Regions from separate parts of the Homo sapiens genome. Here all the other regions are linked to region 1. Evidence: promoter capture Hi-C in 16 types of primary human blood cells and fetal thymus (Javierre and others, 2016). All regions are on one chromosome and are shown on one strand. Each heading gives the region's core, a stretch centred on a gene start or on the middle of the fragment in contact. The rest is flanking DNA. Distances are from core to core; before and after follow the strand shown. Region 1 holds the start of FPR3 (formyl peptide receptor 3). Region 2 overlaps ZNF175 (zinc finger protein 175). Region 3 has its middle 11 kb from the start of SIGLEC6.

Region 1 (4,764 bases), core at 2,224-4,723:
AGATTTGTAAACCAGACCGAACAGAGCCACTACCTTTGCACGCTCAAGTGCTGCCATTGAAAGGCGTTCTTCCAAAATTACCAGGATAGGGTCCTGCCCTCGTATAATAAATTTTTTCTCCTATTTCTTTTACTCATTTCCTTCTTTTTTCCTATCATTATCAGTCACTTTCACTGAGGTCTTCCCAGGGACATTGTTTAGTGTAGCTCAGGGTTTCTCAGCTTTGACACCAATGGCATTTTGGGCTGGTTAATTCTTTGTTGTGGTGGACTGTTCTGTACACAGTAGGATGTTTAGCGGCACCCCTGGCCGCTATCCAGAGATGCCAGTAGCAACTCCCCATTCAGGAGTGACAACCAAAAGACATTGTCAAAGATCCCCTGGGAGGCAAAATACCTCCCACCCCCTCCCCCTGCCAGTTGGGTGTCACTGTAACAGTGTAAAGAGTACCAGGCTTTGGAGTCAGTTAGATCTCTACTCTGATCTTATCTCTGACACCTCGATGGTGTAAATTCTTGATCAGTGACATCTCTTTGAGCCCCCATTTTCCCCTCTGCAGAACTGAAATGGTTTTTTGATAAAGACTGATTTTCAGGGGAGGATTAAATAGAATAGACATGGACTGGAGGCTGAGGTGGGGGAATCGCTTGAACCCAGGAGGCAGAGGTTGCAGTGAGCTGAGATTGCACCACTACACTCCAGCTTGGCAACAGAGCGAGACTCCGTCTCAAAAAAAAAAAAAAAAAAAAAAAGAATAGACATGGAAATCATCTAGGATAGGTCGGTAAATCTGTAACAAATTAGAACTCTTAGCCCTCACCAGGCTGTGTGTTGTGTTGTGGGGTACAATCCCGAACCCTGCACTATGAAGCTCAGGGTCAGGACAAGAACGATGCTTATAGCAATAGTAGCTTCTACTTATGAACATTATCCACACACCAAGAGCTTCTCCCTTAACCCTCACAACTCCTCTCATAGGCTCTGTGGATGGGATGTGTTAATATGTGTAAGCACTCAACACACCCTGAGACACGGTGAATATTGATTAATGTTAGTTTTAATTTGTATAACCATTGTACAGACGAGAAAGTTAAGACTTAGATTGAGGTGGGATGTGGTGAGGGATAAAAGATCATTTTTTATACCAAAAAAATTGAAAATTGTATTTCTACTAGATCATTCTATCACATAATCACGCCCCCTCTCTTTCAAGAGAAACCTCCTTTGAAGCATATTTCTTTCCAGCTTCAACCCTATCTAGCCAAATGACCTCTCTGTAAGGTCTGTCTGTAAGACAGAATTTCCAGCCAAACATCCAAAGAGAATGTCTCTAATTCTTCCTTTTCCTTCTTCGCCTCAGCTGTTCTCCTTAATCCACTCCACATTGACTTCTGTCCTTAGCACTCCACCTAATGCATTTTCCCAAGGATGCTTATGACCCCCAGGCTGCCAAATCCAGTGAGTCCTTCTCAGTTTTTAAGACCTGATATCCCAATGACACAGGACCCATTGGATCACTTTCTCCCTTTTCAAACACATTTTTCCTATGCCATGAGATATATCCAAGAGATATGTGCACACAATACACTCTTGGTCGTCTCTACAGCTCGATTCTCTTCCTCTTTTTAGTCCAATTTACGGTGTTTTCTATTCTAAATTTGACTCTAAATGTTGGGGTATCTCACATTCTATAAATGATATCATCCAGTCTCTGGGATTAAACCATTATGCTGTCTTTTCATCTAAATTATCAGCCGTGGCCTCTCCCTGGCACTCAAGTCTGATAAAACCTCTCCCCGTGGGAGTCCCATAGACTCCAAACCTCACATGGTTTTACCAAACTGTTGATGTTCTCTGCCTCCCAGACCTGCCACTCTTCCAATATTCTGTATCTATTTGGAGATTAAATATTCAGTTGTTAAAGCTCCAGATCTAGAACTCACCTTTCATTTCTCTTTTCCTCACCACCCAACGCCATCCACGTCTTACTCATTCTATCTACAGAACATGCTGAATGCACAGCCAGAGCCATTGCCATCTCCACGACCGGTGTCCATGGCCCTGTCAGGCTTGGATATTTGCACAAGCCTTGCAAATAGCTTTTTCCTGGTCCTGCTGCCCCCTCCCCTAAGATCCATTCTCCAGACAGAAACCAAATGAGCTTTAAAAAGGTCCAATAAGATGGTGATGTTATTCGCAATACCTTCCGATGGCTTCCAGACTTCTAAGTTACCCTTATCTTAGGTTCCCTTATCCTAGGTTCCCTTATCCACTGCCACATGTGCCCTGTGCATCCCTCAGACCTCATCTCTGCACTCTCATCAGACACACTGGGCTCCACCCACTGGGCTCTAATTCCTTGAACTTGCAGCTCTTTGTCATCTCAGGGCTTCTGCTTTCTCTATTCCTTCTGCCTACCGTGCTCTTCGTCTTGAGCTTCCTGCACCTGGCTCATCCTGAATATTCATATTTCAGGTCAAATATTATTTCAGAGAGATCCCACCTCACCCACTCTGCAAAGCAGAATGCTCAGGTACAGCCTATCTCACCAGATACTTTTCTCCTTTATTTGTTTGTTCATTTATCTTCTCTCTTAAATACCCTCCACACTAGTACGTAAGCTCCACAGGACTATCAAGATCCTTCAATGCTACATCTCTACAATGCTACATGTCCAGTAGAAATATAATGTGTTAACTTTAGCTACATATGGGACTCAAAATTTTTTTGTAGCCACTGTTTTTAAAAAAGTAAAACACCTTTGGGGAAATTATTTTAGTAATAAATTTTATTTAATTACATATATGATAAAGAATTGGCCAGTCACATTGGCTCACGCCTGTAATCCCAGCACTTTGGGAGGCCGAGGTGGGCAGATCACGAGGTCAGGAGTTGAAGACCAGCCTGGCCAACATATTGAAACCCCGTCTCTACTAAAAATACAAAAAATTAGCCAGGCGTGGTGGCAGGTGCCTGTAATCCCAGCTACTCAGGAGGCTGAGGCAGGAGAATCGCTTGAACCTGGGAGGCAGAGGTTGCAGTGGGCTGAGATTGTGCCACTGCACTCCAGCCTGGGTGACAGCGCAAGACTCCATCAAAAAAAAAAAAAAAAAAAAAAAAAAAAAGAATGTTACTGGAACATGTAACCAAATTAAACACTGTTAATGAAATAGTTAACATTGTTTTCATACTAACGAAGTGGATTCTTCACTGGACTACGCTACTCCAGAGTTAGAAGGGCTCTGTCATATAGCAGGCATTTCAACAATAACTTTAAAATTTTCAGACCCCAACTTACCACCAGCTTAGATCCTTTTCCTGTGCCCAGTTCCTGGATTCCTGTGGAGCAACTCAGGCTCTAAGTACTTGTAAAAAGATGAAGTTATATGTTTGGTTTTAAGATCTTAATTGGCTTTGGTTATAAAGATGGAATCAGACAGCCTGTCATGCTATAAAACAAAATGAGTGTTTTGATAGTTAGAGCCAAGGAAGTTGGTTTTACAGGGATAGGAGGGCTAAAGAAAGCAGAAACAGAGAACAAAAACCTGATTGGTCATCTGGATGTTGCATTTTTTTTGTGCAGCAGGAATAGAGAGACAGCAATAAGGAACAACTGATTGATTGAAGTCAAGTTACCACAGATTGCTTTTTTTTTTTTTTTGTAAAGATGAAAGCAGACAGAACTTCATGTTCATGCCCACTGAAACTGGCCTGTTTTAGGAATTTGTCCATTTTCTCTCTCTCCTGATTTCTCAAAAGTTCAGATACATTAGTTTTGGTTTGGTGATGTGGAGTTTTAGTATGACTGACTCCATTTGGTTTGCTTTGTCGAACCTAGTACAATAGGTCAGTCCAAACCACTTACTTGCTGTTTTTATAGAACAGGCTTCAGCAGAGACTTAGTTGAAGGACACGGGGACAATGGAGCTGGAATCAATCCAGTGACACAAACTCAGGGTTTCTTACCATTCCCAGAAGACACCTTGGAGATGTTCTCAGACGATTTATCTTGGAAACTTATGTGTCTGAATGTTCCTTCACCTCTAGCCTTCTGTGGGAGACTGGAGTTCATCCTTCCAAATATCAAAGGCCAAGAAATCTGAGAGTCCAGGCCCTTTCTTTTCAGAGATTCAGGAAAATGAAAGAAACAATTACCAAGGTGAGAAGAATGAGAGGAAAAACAATAAAAAAACAAAGATGCACGGTGAAACAAAAACTCGATTCTCTACTTTCACAATCCTTCTGACCAAATATACTTTTTCTCTACACCAAGAAATTCTCCAATTCTCTGGGGACACCACCTGGGCCACCTGCAATTAAAAATTCGGTTATGATGCTGTCTACCTGGATTCAGCTCAGATCCGAAAAGCTAAAGGGCTCACTCCCACAAACTGTTCTCAGATCAGATCAGACATCTGTTGCAAGTCCCAGGTGGCTACTTGTACTTCTGACTGACAGGCTATAAATTGGGTGTTCCAATGACACCAATAAATTGCTAGAATGGCACACAGAACTCAGGAAAGCACTTTGTTTGCATCTGTTGCTTTATATAAGGAATATACCTCAGGAATAGTCCATTGGAAAGAGGCATATGGCAGGTATATGGCAGGGAAGGGGTTGGGTGGTGCATGGAGCTTCCATGCTCTCTTCAGGCAGCCACTCTCCCAGCACTCCTGAGTGTTCACCAATGTGGAAGCTCATCAAATCTCATTGTTCAAGAGTTTTTATGGAACTCAATCTCCAGTCCCTGCCTCCCCTTCCTGG
Region 2 (4,237 bases), core at 544-3,043, 210 kb after region 1:
AAAGGCAGAAAACTCCATGGACGTAAAGAGATAAGCGGTAAGAAAATGCAACAAACAAATGAAAAAGCCAATCAGATAACAGATAAGATGAGAGGCTCTCACCATTCAGTTATTAGAAAAATAACACTTAAGCAATGAAACAGGCTGGGTGCGGTGGCTCACGCCTATAATTCCAGCACTTTGGGAGGCCGAGGTGGGCAGATCACAAGGTCAGGAGATCGAGACCATCCTGGCTAACAGGGTGAAACCCTGTCTCTACTAAAAATACAAAAAATTAGCCGAGTGTGGTGGCGGGTGCCTGTAGTCCCAGCTACTCGGGAGGCTGAGGCAGGAGAATCACTTGAACCCAGGAGGCAGAGGTTGCAGTAAGCCAAGATCGTGCCACTGCACCCTAGCCTAGGTGACAGAGTGAGACTCTGTCTCAAAAAAACCAAAACCAAAAACAAAAAAAAATGAAACAGCCCTTTCACCTATCAGTAGGGCTATAAATTCACCAATTTTGTTAATGCCAAGTGTTAGCAAGCAAGATGTGCAAATGCAAATCCTTGTGCACTGCACATGGGGAGTGTGAACTGGTGCAGCCCATCAGAAGAGCAATATGGTTGATTTAGTCAAGTATACTTATCTCCAGGACCAGGCAATCCCATTCCTGAGTATTCACCAATGGAAAATTCTTAAGGCAGCCCCTATAGGACATTTAACATTTATAGCACATTTACAGTGTTTGATGGGAAACTGGGAGTAGGAGGCAATCTACGGGCCATCACTGGGGGAATGGAGGGAATAGAAAAGTATGGTAGACTGGTAATGGTTCCCTGCAAAGATATCTACATTTGCCCGGGTACAACTTACTCACCTTGACACCTCTGATGTGAGACTTCAGCCTCCTCCACACGCGGCTCCTTTTCTTTTAGCATTCTGAAGATGACCTCTGGGTTGGGAATGTGATACCCTGTTAATTAGAAAGGATACTGGATTTGGGTGTAGCTTCTTCAGTTTTAGAGGCCATTCAATGAAGCTTTACACTGGCTCATTAGAAAAGTCAACATTTTCCACTGGGCACAAAATAATACTAGAAGGTGCCCAAAAGAAACAAACAATCCAGGACAAACCGATAAAAGAGTCATGACATACTTTGATATCCCACTGCGTTCTGCAATGAGGAGGAAGGAAATCTCCTCAACAGGATCCAGCCAAGATTCCCAGGTCAGTTGTGCTCACCCACTGCGAAGAGATGGCTATAGAGCTCCAGCATCACATCCCGGTACAGGCATCTCTGGGCAGGGTCCAGTTGCTGCCACTCCTCCCTGCTGAAGTCCACGGTCACGTCCTCAAATGACACTGATGCCTGTAACAGTGTACCCCAGCTCACTGTGAATTAGGTCATCATTGGCGAGTGGGGATGGCACATATAGGAGGAACATGCTTTTAATGATTTTCACCACGATCCATCACAGAGGCTTCCCACCAAACACCTATTTCACATTTTTAGGGATTTAAAAAAAAATAAGAGAAATATCCTCCATCCACTGTACACCTACATTCATTCATTCATTTTTTTTTTTCAAAAATGAGGCCAGAAATGGGTTCCCTCTAAGTCCTTTAGCTAATTTAGGAATAACCAGCATGATGTTGACGAAGCAACTACATGTGAGGCTGTAGTTGAGCTGGGTTCTGGTGCTCAACACAGAATTACATAAGCTTCTACTCTTGCAGCAACTCAGAGACTTGGAAGACATGTAAATACAAAAGCTCAACTACAGGGTTAAAAAGGGAACATGGTAGAAATATATGCAGAGGACACTGTTGGGGAAGGGCAAATTAGGGAAAGGCAAATTCTACCTAGGAGTAGAAGGTAATGCTACTTAGAGTTGGTGAAGCTTACGCTGGAAGTAAGAACTGTGATGCAGGATGTGTGAAGGAAATCATTTTCCAGAAAAGAGCATGAATAAAACTAGAGAGGTAGGAAAACACTGTGAATTCAGGGAGAAGCAGACAGCTCTGTGTAAGATAAGAGGCGACTATGTCATGTTTGGAAGGTGGTTACCATCCAAGCTCCAAAGAAGTGGGCTGGTGCCTCAATATATAATGGGTATGGATTATTTATTTTAATGAACGGACTGCCATTTCAGGATTTTAAGTGCAGGGAAGAGATATGATCATATAATATTTCAACAAGATGATCTCTCCTGTAATAACTAATATTAGGTTAATGAAAGGACTGATGATGGAAAGATCTTCATTACAGAAGTACTGCAGATGATAAATGCAGCCTGAAGGACAAAACAAAAATGTCACTGTTACTGATCACCAATGACTGCTAAAACCATATGAAAGACTGATGGGTCTTTATAATGGAGGAGTAGGCTGACAATATCTGAACCCAATCATCAATTTTATCACAAGGAGAGAGATAACCAGATATTAAAGTGCACCTAATATGATGCAAAATAAAAAAATAAAAGTAGAGAGGTAGGAAAATACGTGGTGTGCAAACTATTAAGTATCATTTCCAAAAACAAAGAAATCCAAGTGGACTCTGATCAAGCCTCTAGAGGAGAGCCATCCAATGGAAATAAAACATGAACCGTGAATGTGAGCCACACATATAACTTAAAATTGTCTAGTAGCCATGTTTAAAAGACAGATAAAATCAATTTAATGATATTTTTACTTAATCCATTATATTCAAAACATTATCATTTCTATATGTAATATTTTAATATTACATATATTAAAACATTCTATATTCTATATATTGAATATTCTATATTCAATATTTTAAAAATCATCGAGATGAGATGCTTTACATTCTGTTTTCATACTAAGTTTTCAGAAGTCAGCATATATTTTATACTTCAAGCACATCTCAGGGTGAACCAGCCGCATTCAAGTGCTCAATAGCTACATGTGGTGAGTGGCTACCATACTGGACAGCACAGGTCTACATTTAAATACCAGTTCAGAACAGATGTTGGGCATATACCCAGGGGTGGAATTCTGGGTCATGGGAAAAACATGCTCGCCTTTAGTAGAAAATTAGAAATCATTTTCCAAATTGGTTGTACCAATTTATATGCTTACCAGCAGCACACAAAATCCTTCTGGTTGCTCTGTATCCTCACCTACATTTGGTATTATCAGTGTTGGTAACTGTATGCATTTTGGTACAGGCATGGGAGTTACACTGGCAATTCCCAGATGACTAATGAAGCTGAGCATCTTCCCATGTTTACCAGCCTATTCAAGCAAGTCTCTTCTTCAGTTTTCTACTGGGTTAAAAAACACTTTTCCTCAAAAAAAAAAAATTTTTTTTGGGAGATAGAATCTCACTCTGTTGCCCAAGCTGGATTGCAGTGGCACGAGCATGGCTCACTGCAGCCTCTGCCTCTCAGACTCAAGCGATCCTCCTGCCTCAGCTTCCCAAGTAGCTGGGACCACAGGCGTGCACTACCATGTCCAGCTTTTTTTTTTTTTTTTTTTTTTTGAGATGGAGTCTACTCTGTCACTAAGGCTGGAGTGCACTGGCATGCTCTTGGCTCACTGCAGCCTCTGACTCCTGGGTTCAAGCGATTCTCCTGCCTCAGCCTCCCAAGTAGCTGGGATTACAGGTGCCTGCCAACATGCCTGGCTAATTTTTGTATTTTTAGTAGACACGGGGTTTCATTATGTTGGCCAGGCTGGTCTTAAACTCTGGCCTCAAGTGATCGGCCCATCTCTGCCTCCCAAAGTTCTGAGATTACAGGTGTGAGTCACCACACTCAGCCTTAATTTTTGTATTTTTTGTAGAGATGGGGTTTCAGCATGTTGCCCATGCTGGTCTCAAACTCATGAGCTCACACGATCCACCCACCTTGGCCTCCCAAAGTTTTGGGATTACAGGTGTGAGCCACTGCACGTGGCCATTTCTGTGTTTCTGAAGGAGTATCTCATTGTCCTGTAAACCTCTCAGGTCTTTTGTTTTTGTTTTTTGAGACAGGATGTCACTCTGTCACCCAGGATGGAATGCAGTGGTGCAATCACAGCTCACTGCAGCCTCGACCTCCGGGCTCAAGTGATTCTCCCGTGTCAGCCTCCTGAGTAGCTGGGATCACAGGCACACACCACCACACCTAGCTAATTTTTCTATTTTTTGTAAAGATGGGGTCTCCCTATGACGCTCAGGATCGTCTCAAACTCCTGGGCTCAAGCAATCCTCCCATCTTGGCCTCCCAATGTGCTGGGGTTATAGGCATAA
Region 3 (4,826 bases), core at 619-3,118, 250 kb after region 1:
CTGAGGGAGCAGGGCCTGCAGCTTGGGGCAGGGCTGGGCTACTGCTTCTTCCTGGACTCAACTTCGTAACCTGAGACCCTCTTGTAAGTGAAACAGAGGTCTTCCCCATCGTTAGTCTCCAAGGCCACCTGAGCACCTGTCCCCATCCTCCCCTCACTCCCCTTGGCCTCTTCCACACACAACTCCCACTGGCCCCATAACAAGGGCAGGGTGCCATTCACATAGCAGATCCAGGCTTTGAGTCCCCACCTGCTGAATACTCCTCTTCCCTCATCTTCTTATTCTCCCCAGTAGTCCTGATCTAAGTTCTTCTGAACAGATGATATAGTCACATGGGTGAGAATTCAGAGTGCACAGTAGAATCTACCCTCAGACACCCGTCCCCTTCCCCAGAATCCGCCAGTGTCTGTCCTGGCTGCGCTGCGCCTTGATTTGCTTGCCCGAAGGATCTCAGTGATGGTTTAACATCAGTAGTGACATCAGAGTGACATTACTCTCCTCCAGTACTGTGGGTGATTCCACTGTGTGGATGGACTCCAATTTCGTGGCATCAAAAATGTGGACTCTGATTTTGTGCCTAATGGAATATCATGGCACTAATTTTATCTTACCAACAGTAACACTGCAATAAATAATCTTGTATCTACTGCCACAAGTGTACATCTATGCCTGTGAAATCAGTTCTTAAATGCAAAATAGTTGGGTCATATGTTCTTTCTAATTTTGAAAAAATATGGCCATGGAGAACCCATGAAGGTGAACAAGGTTACACGCGCAACAGGGAGGGGTAAAAGTGTATGTATTCACCTACCCATTGTGGGGCAAAACTTTTTTTTTTATTTTTTGAGATAGAGTCTCACTCTGTTGCCCAGGCTGGACTGCAGTGGTGTGATCTTGGCTCACTGCAACCTCTGCCTCCCAGGTTCAAGCAATTCTTGTGCCTCAGCCTCCCTAGCAGCTGGGATTACAGGCATGTGCCACCACACCCAGGTAATTTCTTTTGTATTTTTAGTAGAGACAGGGTTTTGCTATGTTGGCCAAGCTGGTCTTGAACTCCTGGCCTCAAGTGATCTGCCCACCTCAGCATCCCAAAGTGCTGGGATACAGGTGTGAGCCACTGCTCCCAGCCGGGGCAAAACTTTTTGAAATCAGGGCCTGTGGTGGAGGTGGTCTTGGTGGCTGTCGGGGAGGCGGCTGTGAAGATCCTGCCTATCTGCCTCTGCTTCCTCTTCCTCAGCTGAGCGCTGCCCCAGGGACCAAGGAGAGATGTGGGGAGTACAGGGGACATGGTGCTGAATCCCAGGTCCCAGTGCTGGAGGAATCTGAAGGCTCAAGAGGGCCAGGCAGTAGGCTGAATTGTGGCGAGAATTCCACATGGACCAATTGTTGTCTGACCTCGGCTTTCACTGAATGTCCGGGCTGGGAGGTTCCTGCTCTCATTAGGGAGGTTCTGGGGGCTAGGCCTGCTCTCTCCACCCCAGTCCCCTCCTGCCCCTTAGCAGGGCACGGGGAGATGAGTCTGCTGCCCTCTGCACCCCGATCCGGCCACACTGGCAGGCCTTTGTCTTTTTACTCACTGTCAGTTTCTGCAGGAAGGAAGGGCAGCAGCAGGCGTGGAGGCTGCAGACCCTGTCACGGGCTAATCTCTCAGGGGTTGTGGGCATCTCATCCTCAACATCCCACTGGACACCTCCCCCTCAATGGCCTCCAGGATTGCTCTGCTCAGTATGGCTTAAGTTGAGCTGCCCATCTTCTTCCCCCAACCCACTTCTCCTGGGATCCCCATCCTACTGATGACATAGTGGCTCCCATCTCTAAAGTCAGAACCAGGATATGGGTCTTCACCTTCACCTCCCTCCCTCCTCCAGATCCCACAAATCACTAATTCTTGTCCCTCCTTCTAAGCAGGGTTCATCCTGGGGCCCTTTTCTCCATCTTGGCCCTGGTCATGCCTGGGGCCTCGCCTCCTCCCTGAACACTGAGCCCTCCTCACCTCCTGCCTCCATCTCTCCCAACACAGACTCCAGACTCCGTTTCCAGATGCCTCCTCATCCAGTTCCTCCACAGTCTGAGCAGCCGTGTTTCCTCTCTGGTGCTGGAGAACAAGGGGAAAATGCCACAGCCTGGAATGGAGGCCTTGCACAGTCTGTTCCTGGCCAGACTCTCCACCCAAAGTCTCTGCAGGCCAAGCCCTCTGTGGCTCTGAGACTTTGCGTGTGTAATTCCTTCTCCTGAAATGCCCTTCCCTCCCATTCCTGCCAATCTAGGTCCCAATTGTCCTTCAGGCTCAGTCTTAATGTCACTCAGGGTTGTGTGTGTGTTGTGTGCATGTGTGTGTGTATGTGTGTGTGTGTAATTCTTATTTGGTTCTGAGTGGAGCAGAGGCATTATTGGTGATAGACACGAAGCGACTAACTTCAGTGACTCTACTGAGCATCCATTATGTGTCAGCATTATTATTGGCACCAGGGGTTCATCAGTAGACACAGCACGAAAAAAATCTCTGTCTTCAAGAAGCTATCATTCTAGAGACAGGAAAAGTACAAATGAAAAGAAATAATAAATAAAATAAGAGCATGTGGGGTGGAGATCTGTGTTTGGAGAAAAAGCATGCAGGGAAAGAAACATAAGATAGACTGGGGAACCGTTTCTTATCTGATAATGAGGGGAGGTGGTGTGTGAGCAAAGGCATGAAGGTGCTGAGCAGGGAGGCTCTGTGTCTGAATGAGAGACAAGCATCCCAGCAAGAGGGAAGGGGAGCAGTGAGTGCATTGCTCAGAGGCAGCAGCAGGCCTGGGCATTGCAGACACAGCCAGAGCCCCAGTCTGAGAGCAGAAGGAGGCAGAGGAGGGAGCAGCGGGGATGACAGGGCAGCCTGCGTGGGGCCCTGAGGCTACGCAGGAACCTGGAGCCTTTGGAGAGAGCAGAGGCTTGACTGGACTCTCACTCTAACAGGACCCTCAGCTGCTCTGGTCAGAGCAGAACCGCGTGTGTCACGGCAGCCAAGGAGGCTGGGAAGGTGCTGCTGGGTCATCCAGGAGGAGGCATGGGGCTGAGCCAGGGAGGCAGGATGGGGTAAGGATGTGTTTTTGGATGTGAGTGGAAGGTCAGGCTCACAGAATTTTCTAATGAGTGTTGTCAGGGAGGGGAAGGGAAGAGCAAGGATGGGGCCAGAATGTTCCTCTGAGCACCTGGAAGGAAAGAGCTGTGTCCATGGAGGACTGCAGACGGGTGGCTTTCAGGGGCGATGATAATTCTGAGAATCCCCCTGACATCTGAATGGGGATAGGAGGGAGACAGCTGAATGCAAATGTCTGGAGCTCAGGAGAGGGGTCCAGGATGGAGATGTTTCAATGCACAGCTGGAGTAAAGTGATGACCACAGATGAGGAGAGACAGGGGTGAGGACAGACGGAGAAGTGGGCACCTTTGTCACTCATGATCTTTGCAACGGCAGGTTTTTTTGTTTATTAATTCCAAAAATTTATTTGGATTCCATCTGGAGTTTTAAAATTTTATTTGTTTATTATATTTTTTAGAAGGTTCTTACTTTGTTGCCCAGGTGGGAGTGTGGTGGCTTTTCATAGGTATGATTGTCATAGCCCACTGTAGCCTGGAATTCCTGGGCTCAAGCTATCCTCCTTCACAGCCGCCTCTTGAATAGTGGGAACAGCAGGTACCCGCCATCGTGCCTGGTGCCTTTGGATTTTTCAAAGCAATATTTCCAGCCTTATTGAGGTGTAATTAAAAATAAATATTGTATTTATTTACAGCATACAATGTGATGTTTTGTGGACATTTCCTTTGTGTTTTATCATTATTCTATTTTAATAGACAAATAAAATTGTGTATATTTATGATATGTAACATAATGCTTTAAAATATGTGTACATTGTGTAATGAAGAAATAAGCTAATATATGCATTGCCATCTCACACTTATCAACCCCTTTGCACTTTAAAGTAACACCTTATACTCATCAAAAGGATTGCTTTGTATCCAGCAATATTTGTTTTGTTTTGTGATGAGAACATTGGAAATTTACTATCTTAGCAGTATTGAAATATATGATACAGTATTATTAGCTATAGTCACCATGCAGTACAGGAGATTTCCAGATTCCTCTTGTCTACCTGAAACTTGGTACCCTCTGACTAACATCTCTTCATTGTCTCCAACCTCCACCCCTGATCACCAGGGTTCTAGCCTCTGCTTTTATGAAATTGACTTCTACAGATTCCTCATATAAGCAGAATCGAAGTATTTGCCTTTCCGTGCCTGGCTTATTTCACTTGGCATATTGTCCTCCAGGTTCATCCATGTTGTTGCAAGTGACAAAATTTTCTTTCTTTTCAAAGCTGAATAATATTCTCTTGCGTATACATGCCACATTTTCTTTATCCATTCACCCATTGATGGACACTTAGGTTGATTCCATATCTTGACTATTGTGGATAGTACTTTGGTAAACATGGGAGTACAAATGTCTCTTTTGTTTTCTTTCAATAGATACCCATAAATGGGATTTCTGGATCATATGGTAGTTCCATTTTTAATTTTGGGAGGACAAACCTCCTGCTTTCCATAATGGCTGTGCTAACGTACAGTCCCATTAATAGTGTACAAAGTGACCCAAAGTGTTTTTAATGAAATTATGAGATTTACTAGCCTGCTGGCACAAGAACCTGTTTTTCTGTTAACAATGCACACTTTTCCTTAAATAAGAGAATAAATGGAAAGTTTGAGCATATGAAATGACTTTTGTATATTGTTGAAATCTCAGTAATTCAGTTTCTGAGTATATGCAGCCTATCTTTGTATGTTGGA

Evidence for each region. The method cuts DNA at HindIII sites, captures the fragments that hold promoters and counts their contacts. A CHiCAGO score of 5 or more calls a contact.
Region 2: a contact is called between a fragment that was not itself captured here and the fragment with the promoter of FPR3 in region 1, in 1 of 17 cell types (monocytes). The highest score is 5.2, in monocytes.
Region 3: a contact is called between a fragment that was not itself captured here and the fragment with the promoter of FPR3 in region 1, in 1 of 17 cell types (monocytes). The highest score is 6.1, in monocytes.

Annotation. Positions count from the first base shown.
Region 1 is chr19:51,793,866-51,798,629 of GRCh38, reverse strand. FPR3 (formyl peptide receptor 3) reads right to left here and starts at 3,473. Exons shown (of 2, transcript NM_002030.5): 1 at 3,299-3,473. The HindIII fragment of the contact is 12,110 bases long and covers 1-4,764 here.
Region 2 is chr19:51,578,502-51,582,738 of GRCh38, reverse strand. ZNF175 (zinc finger protein 175) reads right to left here. Exons shown (of 5, transcript NM_007147.4): 3 at 1,222-1,348; 4 at 857-952. Among named protein-coding and RNA genes, the nearest start is that of ZNF175, 9.3 kb to the right of the region's middle. The HindIII fragment of the contact is 179 bases long and covers 1,704-1,882 here.
Region 3 is chr19:51,539,772-51,544,597 of GRCh38, reverse strand. No RefSeq gene overlaps it. Among named protein-coding and RNA genes, the nearest start is that of SIGLEC6, 11 kb to the right of the region's middle. The HindIII fragment of the contact is 6,858 bases long and covers 1-4,826 here.